4 separate regions of the Homo sapiens genome follow, and all the other regions are linked to region 1. The links are contacts of gene promoters, found by promoter capture Hi-C in blood cells and fetal thymus (Javierre and others, 2016). All regions are on one chromosome and are shown on one strand. The core of a region is centred on a gene start or on the middle of the fragment in contact, and the rest is flanking DNA. Distances in the headings are between cores, read along the strand shown.

Evidence for each region. The method cuts DNA at HindIII sites, captures the fragments that hold promoters and counts their contacts. A CHiCAGO score of 5 or more calls a contact.
Region 2: a contact is called between a fragment that was not itself captured here and the fragment with the promoter of ZNF282 in region 1, in 2 of 17 cell types (fetal thymus and neutrophils). The highest score is 5.6, in fetal thymus.
Region 3: a fragment that was not itself captured here is called in contact with the fragment with the promoter of ZNF282 in region 1 in 9 of 17 cell types (neutrophils, naive CD8 T cells, non-activated CD4 T cells and 6 more); the score reaches 11.3 in neutrophils.
Region 4: a fragment that was not itself captured here is called in contact with the fragment with the promoter of ZNF282 in region 1 in 3 of 17 cell types (non-activated CD4 T cells, total CD4 T cells and naive CD4 T cells); the score reaches 5.5 in non-activated CD4 T cells.

The regions. Positions count from the first base shown.
Region 1 is chr7:149,193,709-149,197,398 of GRCh38, reverse strand. It overlaps ZNF282 (zinc finger protein 282), which reads right to left and starts at 1,853. Exons shown (of 8, transcript NM_003575.4): 1 at 1,645-1,853. The coding sequence starts at 1,809. RefSeq lists an enhancer at 786-835 and silencers at 1,276-1,635, 1,756-2,077, 1,896-2,185. The HindIII fragment of the contact is 5,667 bases long and covers 879-3,690 here.
Region 2 is chr7:149,628,584-149,632,273 of GRCh38, reverse strand. No RefSeq gene overlaps it. Among named protein-coding and RNA genes, the nearest start is that of TRC-GCA9-3, 5.3 kb to the left of the region's middle. The HindIII fragment of the contact is 1,007 bases long and covers 1,162-2,168 here.
Region 3 is chr7:149,499,450-149,503,139 of GRCh38, reverse strand. No RefSeq gene overlaps it. Among named protein-coding and RNA genes, the nearest start is that of ZNF746, 3.5 kb to the right of the region's middle. The HindIII fragment of the contact is 3,449 bases long and covers 213-3,661 here.
Region 4 is chr7:149,480,824-149,484,513 of GRCh38, reverse strand. The region is part of intron 4 of ZNF746 (zinc finger protein 746); the gene reads left to right. Among named protein-coding and RNA genes, the nearest start is that of ZNF746, 15 kb to the left of the region's middle. The HindIII fragment of the contact is 208 bases long and covers 1,524-1,731 here.

The DNA.
Region 1 (3,690 bases), core at 604-3,103:
AGCAGCTTCCCCCCATATACAACTACTGTTTCATAAACATTTTCCAAATTGAAAATAGGTTCACTAAAAAAGGTCACTCATTAGAGGTGAAGAGGGGATGTCCCTCACACCCAAGAGGACCAAGAGAAAGAAAAACTCCTCTGGGACCCCTCCTTGCTTCCTGGGGAAGGGGTGCCCCATGGCCTGGGGACTCCCCCTTTTATCTTCCAGCACAGAGCCCTCACCCCAGAAGGGTAAACTAATTGGTGCAATTGAGAGCTGAGACCTATGGCTAAGGGGGGCTGGTTGAGGCTGGTGACAGTTCACTGGTCATCTGGGACCTGGTGTCAGACTCAGGGCTCACTGGACCACATGGGCTGGCAGCCGACTCTCCTTCACACCTGGGACAGGAAGAGGTGTCATTTTCTGTCCTCCCGATGGCTGCAGAAAAGGCCCTCAGGCTAGGAAAAGGGGAGGCCTGCTGCTTGGGGCGATCTGGGCAGACCAGCCCCACTCTCTGACTCAAGAGCAGCCCTGCTCCGGGGCAGACCTGCTCCGGGACACAGCAGAGTGGAGAGCAGGGCCCTAGGATCGCCAGGCCCTGTAATACCAGTAAGAGGTGCTGGTGTTTCCATCAAAAGCACCCATTCCTCCATCACAGAGGCTCCACTCCGCCCTAGCCCACAGAAGGGGACAGAGTCCACAGTAGAAGTTAAGAAAGTCCCGGGGCCCAGTTTAGTTTTCTCGGGTTTGAAGCCCTAACCCTGAAAATGATCAAACACAACACAGCAGCCCCTGGCTCCCTCGTTAGCACCTGGCTGAGAGCCGCGTGGTGAGCAGAGGGGCCCCTGAGCAGCCCAGCCCCAGGGTGGGCCCAGAGAGTCTTCCCTGGGCAAGCTTTCAGGCCTCTCTGAGGATCCACCTCCCCTGGTTTTATACCCAATTCTGGAGCACCGGTTCTGCCCACGGAGATCATCGATGGAGCCTGAAGAAATGCCTGGTGCTACTCTCACCCGTCAGAGACCCTGAGCTCTGGGACCAGGCAAGGGCTCAGGAGTCTTAAAAGCTGCCCAGGCCATTCCAACATGCGGCCAAGTTTGTCAACCGCAGGAAAGACCCCGAAGTCATCTCTCCATGGCCCCCTCCCTGGATCACACCCGGTGCAGGGGGAGAGTGAATTACTCATTACACTTGGTGAAAGGTGGTAATCAAACATTTAAAAAATATCCCCGTCAAATTGGCCACCGTGTAAACACGAACGAGGCATTCACTTCTGCGGCCGGGCGGAAGCACTGCCCGCGAAGCTCTCCGCCGGCCGGGCGCAAAGGGAGCCCCAAGCCGGGGCTCAGCCACAGGGTCAGAGCTCTGCCAGGTCCCGGAAAGGACGGTCCCGGCCCCCGCCCCGCGGGGCCTCCGCACTTGGGCCCGGCGACCGCTGCTCCGCGCCGCGCGGGCCAGGCCTGCCCTTCCGGGCCTGCGTCGGGCCCGCTCCGTCCTGCCCGCCGCGCAGCCCGGCCGTGCCCCGCCCGCCTCGGGCCTCGCCTGGGCGCGGAAGCTGGGAGGGCGCCGCAAGGCTACCGGAGGACGGCGCGGCCCGGTCCCGCGGCCCAGCCCGCGCCCCGCCCCCACGGCAGCGCGGCCATGGCGCCGGCGGGGTTCTCCCACCTGCATGGGCGGCATTCCCTCGGCCATTTCCCCGCGCAGCGCCGGCTCCTGGTGGCAGACCTCCTCCGGGGGCAGAGCCTGGGCCCAGCTCCAGCTCCCGCTGTCCAGCCCCAGGCCCTGGATGCCCAGCTGCTGAGGCTGCGGCCGTGTTGACACAAACTGCATCCTGGGAGTGCTGTTCCCCGCTCGGGTCGGCCAGGGAGAAGAAGAACGTTTTCCAGGCGCCTTCCCCCTCTCCGGGGCCGGACAGCTCCATCTACAGCCCGTAGGAGCAAACAGTCCCCTTCGGCGGCGCTCCCCGCCCCTTGGCAGCCCGCGCGCCAGCCAATGGCCTCGGAGCTCCTGCCCGCCTGCGGGGACCTACCGGGGCCACTCCCGGACTGGGGTCGCCACCGCCCCAAAACTGAGAGGCGGCGGCCTCGCCCAGGGGTCAGGCCCCCTCAATCTGGGATGGCCGACTTTAAAGGCCCAAACTATGCGAGGACCTGGACTGTGGGCTTGATTACTGTTAATTCTGCAAATGTATTGGGCATCCCGGGAGAAAATAGTGCCTGACCCTTGTGAAAATTTTGCAGGAGTAATTCTGTCTTCAGACACTTTCTTCTGGCCTTCTGCCTTCCCTCACTCCTTTGCAGACTTTACCTCCCACTCCCCTTCTTCCCAATCCAGATTTACCTGGACCCATCCCAGAGCTTTTGCACTGTTATGGATGATAGAGAAGTGATTCATGTTAAGGTGTCAAAAGAGGGCTGAGCTCTTTCTCCCAGGTAAGGTGCAGTGCATTTTAACAGTGGCCTCTTCAAACACCTTGAAATTGGGTTGGGCGTGGTGCCTCACACCTGTAATCTCAGCACTCTGAGAGGCTGAAGCAGGAGAACGACTTGAGCCCAGGAGTTCGAGACCAGACTGAGCAACATATTGACACCCCATCCCTATAAAAAATAAAAATTAGCCGAGCGCGGTGGCTCACATCTGTAATCCCAGCACATTGGGAGGCTGAGGCAGGCGGATCACCTGAGGTCAGGAGTTCGAGACCAGCCTGGCCAACATGGTGAAACCCCGTCTCTACTAAAAATACAAAAAGATTAGCCGGGCGTGGTGGCGTGGGCCTATAATCCTAGCTACTCGGGAGGCTGAGGCAGGAGAATCGCTTCAACCTCCGAAGCGGAGGTTGCAGTGAGCCAAGATCGCGCCAGTGCGCTCCAGCCTGGGCAACAGAGCGAGACTCCATCTCAAAAAATAATAATAAGGCCGGGCGCCGTGGCTCACGCCTGTAATCCCAGCACTTTGGGAGGCCAAGACGGGCGGATCACGAGGTCAGGAGATCGAGACCATCCTGGCTAACACGGTGAAACCCCGTCTCTACTAAAAATACAAAAAAATTAGCCGGGTGTGGTGGCGGCGCCTGTAGTCCCAGCTACTCGGGAGGCTGAGGCAGGAGAATGGCGTGAACCCGGGAGGCGGAGCTTGCAGTGAGCCGAGATCGCGCCACTGCACTCTAGCCTGGGCAACAGAGCAAGACTCCGTCTCAAAAAAAAATAATAATAATAATAATAAAATAAAAAATAAAAATTACCCGGGCATGATGGCTAATGCCTGTACTCCTAGTTACTCAGGAGGCTAAGGCTGTAGGATTGCTTGAACTCAGGAGTTGGAGGTTGCAGTGAGCTGTGATTGTGCCGTTGTGCTCCAGCTTGGGCGGCATAGCAAAGATCCTGTGTCAAATAAATAAATAAATAAACCTTTAAATCGGGCAGTCATGGTGGCTCACACCTGTAATCCCAACACTTTGGAGGCCAAGGCTGAGGCCAGGAGTTCAAGACCAGCCTGGGTGACACAGCGAGATCCCTTCTCTACAAATAAAACCCTTTAAAGGCAGGTCAGTGTCACTTTGAAACATCAGGCCAGGTCAGAGGAGGAGCCAGGGAGAGGCCAGTATAAGCTGATGAAGATGGAGGAGGGGAAAATTCAGTCATTCCAAATGTATTTATTGAACACCTACTGTGTGCCAGGTACTGTTTAGGAAGAGGGTGAGCTTTGCAGTTG
Region 2 (3,690 bases), core at 416-2,915, 440 kb before region 1:
AAAACAACAGAAAAAGAGTGACAGCCCCAATGTCGATTGAAAAAAAAATGCTACTGAGGGCTTGAATTAAAGATGAGAATCACCCATGACACATGGTCACCAAGGACTGTGACAAGCACAGTCTCAGTGAAGTGGAGCACTTGGGTGGGTGTTCTCCTGGGAAGCCCTCCTGACCCTCCTGATGGGTGGGACCCCTGCCACATGCTCCATGGCTCCTGTATGTCTATCAAAGCACACACAGTTCACCATAATTGCTGCAAAGATGTGCCTGTAGGGTTCCCTGTATATCATGAATGGCCAGTACATATATGAATATGCTCAAATGTGTCAATAAAAAAGAGAGGATATATTAATGGAAGGAGATCCCAGGGAAAGCCAAAGGGTGGATAAAGAACACAGGATGTGCTCTAGAGAGGAGCAGGCAGGCTTTTCCTCTTAGCCTGGAGGGGATGAGGAGAAGGTGAAGATGCAGAGCAGAGGATGCTGGGGGGCCTCCATGGCCTTGGTCTTCTCAGTCAGATAGAAAACAAAGTCTTCCAAAGAGAATAAAGGAGGTAGGGTGGGAATCATTACTTGGGAAGAAGGGCAAAGTGTGAATCAGGCACTGTGGGAAATGGAGAAGAAGTGAATTAGAAAGGAATAGAATCATTGCTCATTAGAGAGAGGCACTGGTTGAGGTCAAACTGGTGTAGATTTGCAGTGGGACCATTTGCCTGGCTCTACAATTTACTCCATCAAAGACTGGCTTCCCCAGAGCAAAGGTGGGAAAGGCCAAAGGCGTGTGTATCCGCGGAAGCAGAAGGGCTCATGAGAGAGGTAGATAGACCACAGACCAAGCTCTCAAAGGAGCTGGAATCATGACTGAGAGGCCAAACATGGGATCAATAATGGGCAGGCAGATAGCTGAGCCCCAAGGTGGCCCTGCGGTCATGGGAACAGAGAGAGGTAGACAAGATTAAGGTCAAAATGAGGATAATGAAACATTTTTGGTAACAGTAAGAACATGTAAACATCAGAAAACGTGTCATAAAAGGACTTTTCTGATTCTAAGATCTTGAAAGGGAATAGTTTAAGTGATGATCAGGTTTGGCTATGAATGCTGAACACCCAAAATAACAAAGGATGGAAGCAAAACAAAAACAAGCAAACAAACCAGAAGCTTCCTTTTCTCCCACATAAAAGTCCACAGCTAGGTGGTCCAGGCATGGCTTTCCATAGGGTCAAGAACCCGATTTCTTCTTTGTGGCTGTCTGGCTGGCTTGGCTTTCATTCCAGCATGCCATCACCCACATTAGCATCTCATCGACCTCCCAGCCAGTAGGAAGGAGGAAAGACAAGCCTCTCCATATAAGAACACCCATCACTTTCACCTGCATCTCATTGACCAGCCTTATGCCTATGGCCTCACAGCTCCAAGGGGGTCTGGGAAATGCAGTTTTTCTTCTGGGAAGCCATGTGCTCAGCTGATAACCAAAAGGCAGGGTAGAAGACACTGGTGGAAAACTCTGAATCTCTGCCTCACCACACACCTTGAAGGCCGCAGTGAACGGAGTTTGTGAACATTCCTAGAGCCAGGAAGATGGAAATCTTGGGAGGCCTTAGCATTGGAAGCACATTACCTTGGAGTTTGACATTCCCGAGAATGAAAGCAGGAGGAGGTGAGGAAAATACGATTGTTAGCCTAGTTCTAAAAATTTCCACTAGGTTTGTGGAGAAGACATGAATGTGGAGAGGAGAGCGTGGTGAAAGGAGATGGCTTTGAGAGAGAAGCAGGGAGGGATGGTGGAGGAGCTGGGGTTTGGGGGCAACATGGAGAATGAGGCTGAGAAGGTGACCCCACCCTCTCAGTTCTGGAGGTTGAAGGGGAGGGATGGCTTCACGGGAAAGCTGGCCTTCAGATGTACAAGGAGGGATAAAAAGGCAGACTCCCAGGGCAAGGTTAAGGAGGAAGGAGACTGTTTATAGAGTAGCTGGAGGGCTGGCGGGCTTGGGTGGAGGAGCTAAAACAGTAATGGGGATACAGGAAGGAGGCTGCCCCAAGAGACCATTTTCACTATCAGAAGGCATTGGAGGGCAGGGACGGGAAAGGGGCAAGTACCCAAGTTCTAGGCCAAAGCTCTAAGTGTGAAACTGGAACAGCAAAAGCCACTTCTTAAAAAATGTAAGCTTTTGTGAGTACAAAGTGGTATATATATTTACGGGGCACATGAGCTGTTTTGGAAGAGGCATGCGATGCGAAATAAGCTCATCATGGGGATTGGGGTGTCCATCCCCTCTAGCATTTCTTGTTTGAGTTACCAATGCCACTTTTTGGAGGAAAAAAAAAGTACTAAATAAAAAATTCGAATATTTTGTTAACAAAAGGAATCTGCTTTAAGGAAAAGAAAATTATAAAGCACGTCACCAAAGATAAAAGAAGTTCTGTTATTCAGGCTCCTACATCTTATACTAAAAAGAAAGGTCACAGGATACAGAATATTTTCAACTCAGGGGAGTAGAGCAAAGCACCATTTGCTAAATGGTCAAATTAGGCAGAGCCTCAAGTGACACTACACTTGACCAGGCTCTGTCTTCAATGCCTGCTTCTCTGTTGTGTTTTCCTGCCATTCAGTGTAAAGATAGTAAGACTTTCTTGCTGTCACATAGTTTTATTACAAGAACCTCTTTTTAACCTATCTAAAGTAGAAACTTCTGTTGTTCATATAAATCAGAAGAATTAATAAACATATTTTAGGTAGTTCTGAAAAAGATTCATAAAAGGTGATTAGTGTAAGGGATACTAAAAATCATGAATTGTGCTTCTGAATTCTATGCTGTATAGCTGAACCTCCATGAATTTTGACATTTTGTACCAAAAAAGCTGTTTGTTCTCCAAAGCATAGAATGCCATCACATCCTTTAGCTTTTGAGATGGTTGATATAATTCAATAATCCCTTCTGCAGAAGTTTGCTTTTAAAGCTTAAATATGACATAAAATTGCTTTTGATAGTTACAAAACTTAAACACAACATGGAACTTTACTTATATTTTAACCTGTTGACATTTCATCCTCTGCAGACTCTCTTGGCCTTATATGGGCTCACTCACTGAGCTATAAATCCTCGTGGTTTGTTTGGAATTAGAAGACCAATACCACCCCATCCCAGGGGGAATGCCTGGATGAAAAAGGGGACAAATTAAGACAACTAGGAAATGCTGAAACAGCCTTTGTTCCTGGAAGATGCTGTTCTGGTCCAGTTTTTGTTTGTTTGTTTTTTTTCTCTCCAAGACGGAGTCACGCTCTGTTGCCCAGGCTGGAGTGCAATGGCGCAATCTTGGTTCACTGCAACCTCCACCTCACTGCAACCTCTGCCTCCCAGATTCAAGAGATGCTCCTGCTCAGCCTCCACGGTACCTGGCATTACAGGCACGTGCCACCACGCCCGGCTAATTTTTGTATTCTTAGTAGAGATGGGGTTTCACCATGTTGTCCAGGCTGGTCTCGAACTCTTGACCTCGTGATCCGCCCACCTTGGCTTCCCAAAGTGCTGGGATTACAGGTGTGAGCCAACGCACCCAGCCCCAGGTCCAGTTTCAAGTACTGTACACTTAAATGTGAAAGGAAAATAAATCTTGGGGCCCCCAAATCACTAACCTGAAGGGAAAAGTCAAGCTGGGAACTGCTTAGGGCAAAGCTGCCTCCCATTTTA
Region 3 (3,690 bases), core at 688-3,187, 310 kb before region 1:
TGGGTTTTGTCCCTAGCCAAGCTCAAAAGGACTCAGTGTCCCTATAAAATATTCTTCATTTCATCTGGCTAGGCTTTGATGTGACAGGCTTCCCCCACTCTGAAAGCCATGAGAGACTATTGTGAGGTCCTCAAAAATTGACAACTCAAAGGTCAGACCTATAAAACTTCAAAATCTCTTGTAAATATGAGTCAGCACCTGAGTAATAAGCTTGTTTCTATTATAATTAATAATATTGCTGGGGTGGGCCATGTTCTGCACAGTAAGTACTCCTTGAGAAATCTAATTTTTGTACCTAGAACACTATTTTCAAAAGCTGTGGAGATTTTAGTTATGGGAGAATTCAATAACTTTAGTTATTAAAAATTTTTAATGAATCTAAAAACAAAACTCTGATGCTTGTTTCTTATGTCTGGATTTTTCCATATTTCCATATTTGGAGTTTGCTCCAAATATGGAAGGGCCTCCTATATTCTTTTACCATCCACCTCACCTCCACTGGCGCAAGGTGACCTCACTCCTGCCCTGGAGAGCTCAGGTGCAGAGACTTGCACTCTGCTGAGGGCGTCTGGAATGCCCTGTTGTTCATTCCTGTCGCTCAAAGTTCTGACCCCAGAGAAGATGCCAGGGCCCTGGGACGGGTCACTCTCTAAGCTGTTGTCAGTCATAAACACCCTAGGTGTAGGCAGGTTTTAACATCACCATATCAGAATAACTGAGGCTATGGACGCTTCTAGAAAACTTGAAAGGCAATCATGGATGCCAGGGCACTGAAACTTCCTCCACACATCTGCCACTTGCCCACCTTGCCCCTGGCTTTCTAATGCCACATCAGGATCTTACCTCCAGGTTGGCAGAGGGTGATGCCATCATGGTGGAAACTCAGCAACACCTGAGATGCCTGGAGCTATGCTTCTCAGACGGAGGCACGGACCCCCTGAAAGGGAGGTCCAGGGTGAGGAGGGATGTGGGAGTGATACAGGAGGGAGGCAGGAAAGTGCTGGGTAGAGAAAGGCAGGGTCCCTGGCAAAGGCTCTACCCTCAGGCCTGTGCCCACTGACCTAGGTGAGGACAGGTATTTCTGTTTCTGTGGCTAAATGTGGCATTTCCAAGACCACCCTGGCCTGCCACACACCCCATCCTGTGCCTTTAAACATCCTGAGACCCTAGTGGGCACGGACACGAGCAGCTGGACATCGAGAGGAACTCAACAGCAGAAGAACACACGGGCAGACACCAGCAGACGCCGGCAGGCCATCTATGACGGGACGACACGGAGTTCAGCAGAGGCCAGTCGGAGGAGGGCCCGGCCACTGGGTGGCCTGACTCCAGGGAAAGGCCACCTTCCCACTCCATCCTCCTTCTGGCCTCTCCATCCACCTCACTGAGAGCTGCCACCACTTAATAAAAAGCCTTGCACCCATCCCCCAAGCCCACGCGTGATCTAATTTTTCTGGCACACTAAGGCAAGAACCCCAGGATACAGAAAGCCCTCTGTCCTTGTGATAAGCCCCACAGCCTGCCTGCCTACATGCTCCCGCTAGAGGTTTGAGCAGCGGGGCACTGACAAAGTGAGCTGCAGCCCCCATCTCACACCCTGAGAGGCGGATGAGGGAATTGTTCCCATTTCAGGAGCAAGAGAGGGGTTTTGAAACATCAAATAAATTTTTTACTCTGGTCAATAAATCAAAATAATCTTTTAAAATTAAAACAAGCACAGAAGTTTTATAAAGGAGACAAGATTTAATGGATTGTTAAAGTATGACAATTTATCACACCTTCTGGCTCACCAAGGGCCATTTCAGGCAGCGTCCAGACCCACAGGACATACATTCACTTTTCTCTGTACTCAAGGGCTCTGGTATAGAATATTTTTGAGGCACTGGCCTCCAGCCAGCCAACCCCAGAGGACTGTGAGTCTCCCAGCTCCCAGCAGAAGGAAAGGAGGTAGCTTCTCAGAGCCATGGCCCTGACCATCCGCATCTGCAAATTTCACTGAGGGATTTGAGGCAGGAACTTGGCACTGGCTCCATGGGAGAGACTCCAGGGCCAGCTGCAAGTTCTCCAGCACTTCACCACATCTAACCGCTGCAGGGTAACGCTCAATGTGAGAGCACTCAGACAATGTAAGGGAAGTTAAGCTCGAGCAGACACCACCTGGAGCCCAAGGATGCCTGCTGCAATGCCTGGCCAACTTTCACCATGCCTTTGTATCTGTCAGGATAGGCTAGGTTAAACTGTGGAACAAGCAACCCCCAAACCATGTTACAACAAAAAGTTTCATGTTCATGCTGTAAGTAGCTCATCATGGGATGGCTGGGGAGTCTACTCAATGTCCCCCACCTCCAGGATGCAGGCAAATACAGCACCCACCTCCTCAAATATTGCTGGGTTACCATAGTAGAGGGAAAGAAAAAACATCAGCCAGAACTTGTCACATGGTCCAACCCAGCCAGAAGAAACCAGGAAGTGCCATCCAGCCATGGTCTTCAAGAGAAACCAGCTGGAAATATTTAGTGGGCAGCAATGATTACCACAGTCTTTTTGAAAACCCCAAGCCTGAACTTTTAGGCTGTGTGCCTGGTCCCAGGGGAAAAGCTCAGGCCTAAGGGAGCAGCTGGAAAAATAGAGGTCCACCTGTTCTGCTGTACCTGCTGGAGTATAGGAAGCACTCATAGGGGTGCATGGGTCCATAGTCCCTACATCTACACAGTCTATGTGCAGTATGAACCACACACTTCCTGCCTCCCTGACACCTTGAGTTGACATGTGGTCTCATGTTCTCTAGCCCTTCCAGGCTCCTTCTGGGTGTGTTGAAAATGCTTTATGATTTTTCTTCTAGGAATACTCAGCAGGAAGGTGGAGATGGTAGGGGCTGCAGAAGTATTAGAGCAGAGGAGGGGATGATTCTTTGGACCACAGTTGATCACACCACACAGAGCAATCAATTAAGACTTGTACTAAATCATTACTTTATGTTGCCTAAACCTGCCCAGTATTAGGCACTGCAGGAGAGACAAGAGAAATAAGATATAGTCCCTGCTCTCAGGGAACTTATAATCCAAGAGGTGAGTTAGGAACTACTACCTTGTATTGTAATTTTTTTCTCAGTGCCATATGAATGGCACCGAGAATAAAAATTATTAGAGTTGGGACAATGCAGAGCTTGCTGCAGCCGTGATTGGCATGGAGAGACTTAACTGGAAGAATTAGGGCATATGCTGGTCTGGAAAAGGTGTGAGAACTTCGGGTGGGCAAGAGGAGAGGGGAAAAGCATGAGGAAAGGCACAGGAGTGGAAACTCTCATGCCTGCTTTTGACACCTGTGCCCAAAATGGAGGGAAAGGCTTTGGAAGCCTCATATATCAATCCAAGGAGGTTTATCTTCGTTCTTTTTACAAATAGAGGCTGGAAAACCAGCACCAGAGATGCTCTGCAATAGATGCCTGTCTTCAGTGGAGGACAGAGCAAGTCATCATTACCCTAACTTGGCTGTCTGCAGAGCCCCAGCTTCACCCTTACCTCAACCCCTACAAGGAACTTGTTAAAAAGAGACCTTCTTTTAAAATAAGTTTTCTCCACATTACTCAGGACCCATCCCAAAGACATTTTGATTCAGTAGATATGAGATGGGATCCAGAAATCCATATCCTTCACAAGCTTCCCCAGAGACTGATGCAGCTGCTCTGAG
Region 4 (3,690 bases), core at 378-2,877, 290 kb before region 1:
CCTATGTCTGTGTTTGGCTAGGTGTTTCTAACAGTAATGACTTGAATTTTATATAATTTCTTTTGGTATCCATTGAGATGATTATACATTTTTTTCTCCTTAACCTGCTAGTAAGGTAAATTATGTTACTTTCTAATGTTGAACCAACCTTGCAGTCTTGGAATAAACCTAACTTTGTCATGATCCTTTATGAACATTGCTGTATGCTAATTATTTTGTTTAGGATTTTTGAATCTTTGTTCATGGATGAGATGGGCTTGTAATTTTCTTTTCTCAGACTGTTTTTGTCTGGTTTCGGTATTAAAAATATGAGCTATGATGTATTCATTCTGTTTTTAATTTTCAGAGAGTTTTTGTAATGTTGGAATTATCTATTCCTTCAACATTTAGTAGAAAACACCAGTGGGGCCACCTGAGCCTTAAGTTTTCTTTGTGGGGAAGATTTTTTACTACCGATGTAATTTATTTTAGTTACAGGACTATTCAGGTTTTCTATTTCTTCTTTAGTTTTGGCAGGTTGAAATTTTCCTAGGAATTTGTCCATTTCCCCAGAGTTTTCAAATTACTTGGAATAACATTCATAATATCCTCTATATCTTTTAAATCTCTGCTGCATTTATCATTATGTTCCCTTTTTCATTCTTCCAATTGGTTATTGGTGCTGTCTCTCCCATTCTCTTGATAACCTTGCTAGAGGTGAATTGGTTTAACAGTCTCTTCAAATAACCAACTTTGACTAACTATATTCTATCTTTGTCTTCTCTTTTATTAATTTATGATACTCTTATATGTATTATTTCCTTCTACTTTTGAAAAGGTTCTTAAATGTTATTTATTTTCTAATGTCTTGCATTGACGCTTAACCCATTAATTTTTGACCTGTGTTTTTGTTTTTTTTTTTATTTTTTTACACGGAGTCTCGCTCTGTCGCCAGGCTGGAGTACAGTGGCGCGATCTTGGCTTACTGCAATCTCCACTTGCCGGGTTCAAGCCATTCTCCTGCCTCAGCCTCCCGAGTAGCTGGGACTACAGGCACATGCCACCACACCCAGCTAATTTTTGTATTTTTAGTAGGGATGGGGTTTCACCATGTTGGCCAGGATCATCTCGATCTCCTGACCTCGTGATCCACCTCAGCTTCCCAAAGTGCTAGGATTACAGGTGTGAGCCACTGCGCCCAGCCCCTGTGTTATCTTTTTTAATATAAACATACAAGGCTATAAAATTTCCTCTAAGTACCATTGTAGCTGTAGCCCATACATTTTGATAGATAATATTTTCATTAATATTGGGTTCCAGATACCTTCTAATTTTCATTGTGATTTTTTTCTTAGACTCAGATTATTTAGAAAGCGGTATATTTTAAAATTTTAGTATGTATGGGAGTTATTGATTTCAAACTTAATTGTGTTGTAGCTAGAAAATGCAGTGTGTAAAATACTAGTCGTTTAAATTTTGCTGAAGTCTGTTTTATGACCTAGAAAGTGTTCATTTTTCCTTAACGCTCTGTAGCTTAAAAAGCTTGTGTTTTCTCTGTGTTTGGAATCTGCTTAGGTCCCTTTAATCAGGTTTGTTAGTAGAGTTGCTCAAATTTTATATAACCTTTAGTTGGCTAGATTTATCAATTACAGAGAGATATATCAAAATCCCCTACTGTAAAGATGGATTTGTTCATTTCTCCCTAGAGTTTTATCAGTTTTGCTTTATTATTTTGAAGCTATATGATAAGCTTAAAAAATTAGAGTTATTGGCTGGGTGTAGTGGCTCACGCCTGTAATCCTAACACTTTGGGAGGCTGAGACGAGTGGATCACCTGAGGTCAGGAGTTTGAGGCCAGCCTGGCCAACATGGTAAAACTCTGTCTCTACTAAAGATATAAAAAATAGCCAGGCGTGGTGGCACACATCTGTAATCCCAGCTACTCGGGAGGCTGAGGCAGGAGAACTGCTTTAACCTGGCAAGTGGAGGTTGTAGTGAGCCGAGATTGCACCATTGCACTCCAGCCAGTGCAGCAGAGCAAGGCTCCATCTCAAAAAAAAAAAAAAACCTTAGAATTACTTTATCTTCCTGGTTAGTTTACTATTATGCAGTAATTCTTTTTATTTCTATGAATATTTTTACTTTCAAAGTTTATTTCATGTGATATGGTATAGCTACATCATTTCTTTACATTGTTCTGGCTTAGTACATCTTTCATTCTTTTACATTGCTTTCTGCGTCCTTCTGTTTAGGTATGTCTCTTGTAAACAGCAGATAGCTGGGGGATTTGTTTGGTTTTAGTCTGAAAATCTTTACCTTTACCTTTTAAATATCCAAACAGTAGCCACTATCCACCTGTAGCTACTGAGCACTTGAAATGTGCTGTAAGGATAAAATACATACCGTATTTCAAAAACCGTGTACAAAAACAAGCCGTGAGTACAAAATATGCATGTATAAAATAATATAAATCATTTTATATTGATTATACGTTGAAGTAACATTTTTTATATCTTGGGCTAAATAAAATGTACTGTTAACATTTATTTCACCTGTTCTTACTTTTTTAACATGACTACCAGAGTACTTAAAATTAGATATGTGGTTCACATTCTTTTTTCTTCTTAGCTCTGGTCTAGACCATTTACATTGATTATGGTTATTAGTTTATTTGGATTCTTTTTACCATCTTAAATTGTGCTGTTAATCTTTAGTTCTGCCTTTTCTGTATTTTTCCTGCCTCTCCTTTGGGAATTATTCATTTAGGTATTTTCCTTTTCAAACTATTGTTATTTTAAATTAATTTGACAGTTATGTATTCTATTTCTATTGTTATAGAGGAATCTTTAGAAATTTTTTCTTCCTTTAGAAGTTATTTTTTGTGGGTCTGATGGTAATGAGCCCTCAGTTTGTGTGTGTATATGAGTTTATATGTGTTTATATGTGTGAAAATATCTTTATTTCATCCCTATACAGTGAGTCCTCTGTATTTATGTATTCCACATTTGTGGATTCAGGTAACTGCACATTTGAAATATTCAGGAAAAAAGGTGTCTACTAAACATATACAGACTTTTTTCTTGTCATTATTCTCTGAACAATACAGTGTAGCAACTATCTACATAGCATTTACGTCGTATTAGGTATTATAAGTAATCTAGAGGTGATTTAAAGTATACAGGAGGATGTGTGTGGGTTATATGCAAATACTACACCAATTTATACAAGGGACTTGAGTATTGTGGGATTTTGGTATCCATGGGGTGCCCTAGAACCAATCCCCCACTGACACCAAGGGACAACTGTAGTGGAAAGACATAATTTTAGCTTGAGTGTTATTTTCTCTTAGCTTTTGAAGATAATTTGCCCCTTTTTTCTGGCTTTTGTTGTTGCTATTGAGAATCTGCCATCAGTCCAATCAGGATTCCTTTGTGGATGATCTGCATTTTTTCTTTCCCTGCTTTTAGGTCTCTTGGGTGATCTGCAGTTTTAATACAATGTGTCTAGATGTGGATTTATTTTCTTTTATCCTGCTTTAATCACTGAAATGTTTCACCAATTTGGGAAAATGTGTTATCTTCCCTCTTTGAATTTTGCCTTGCCCCCTTTCTAACCTTTTATTCTGGAACTTTTTCATATTATCCTTTATAACTTCGAACCCCTCTTTATATTTTTAGCTCAGTCTCTATGTTAAGGTTGGAATAATTTCTT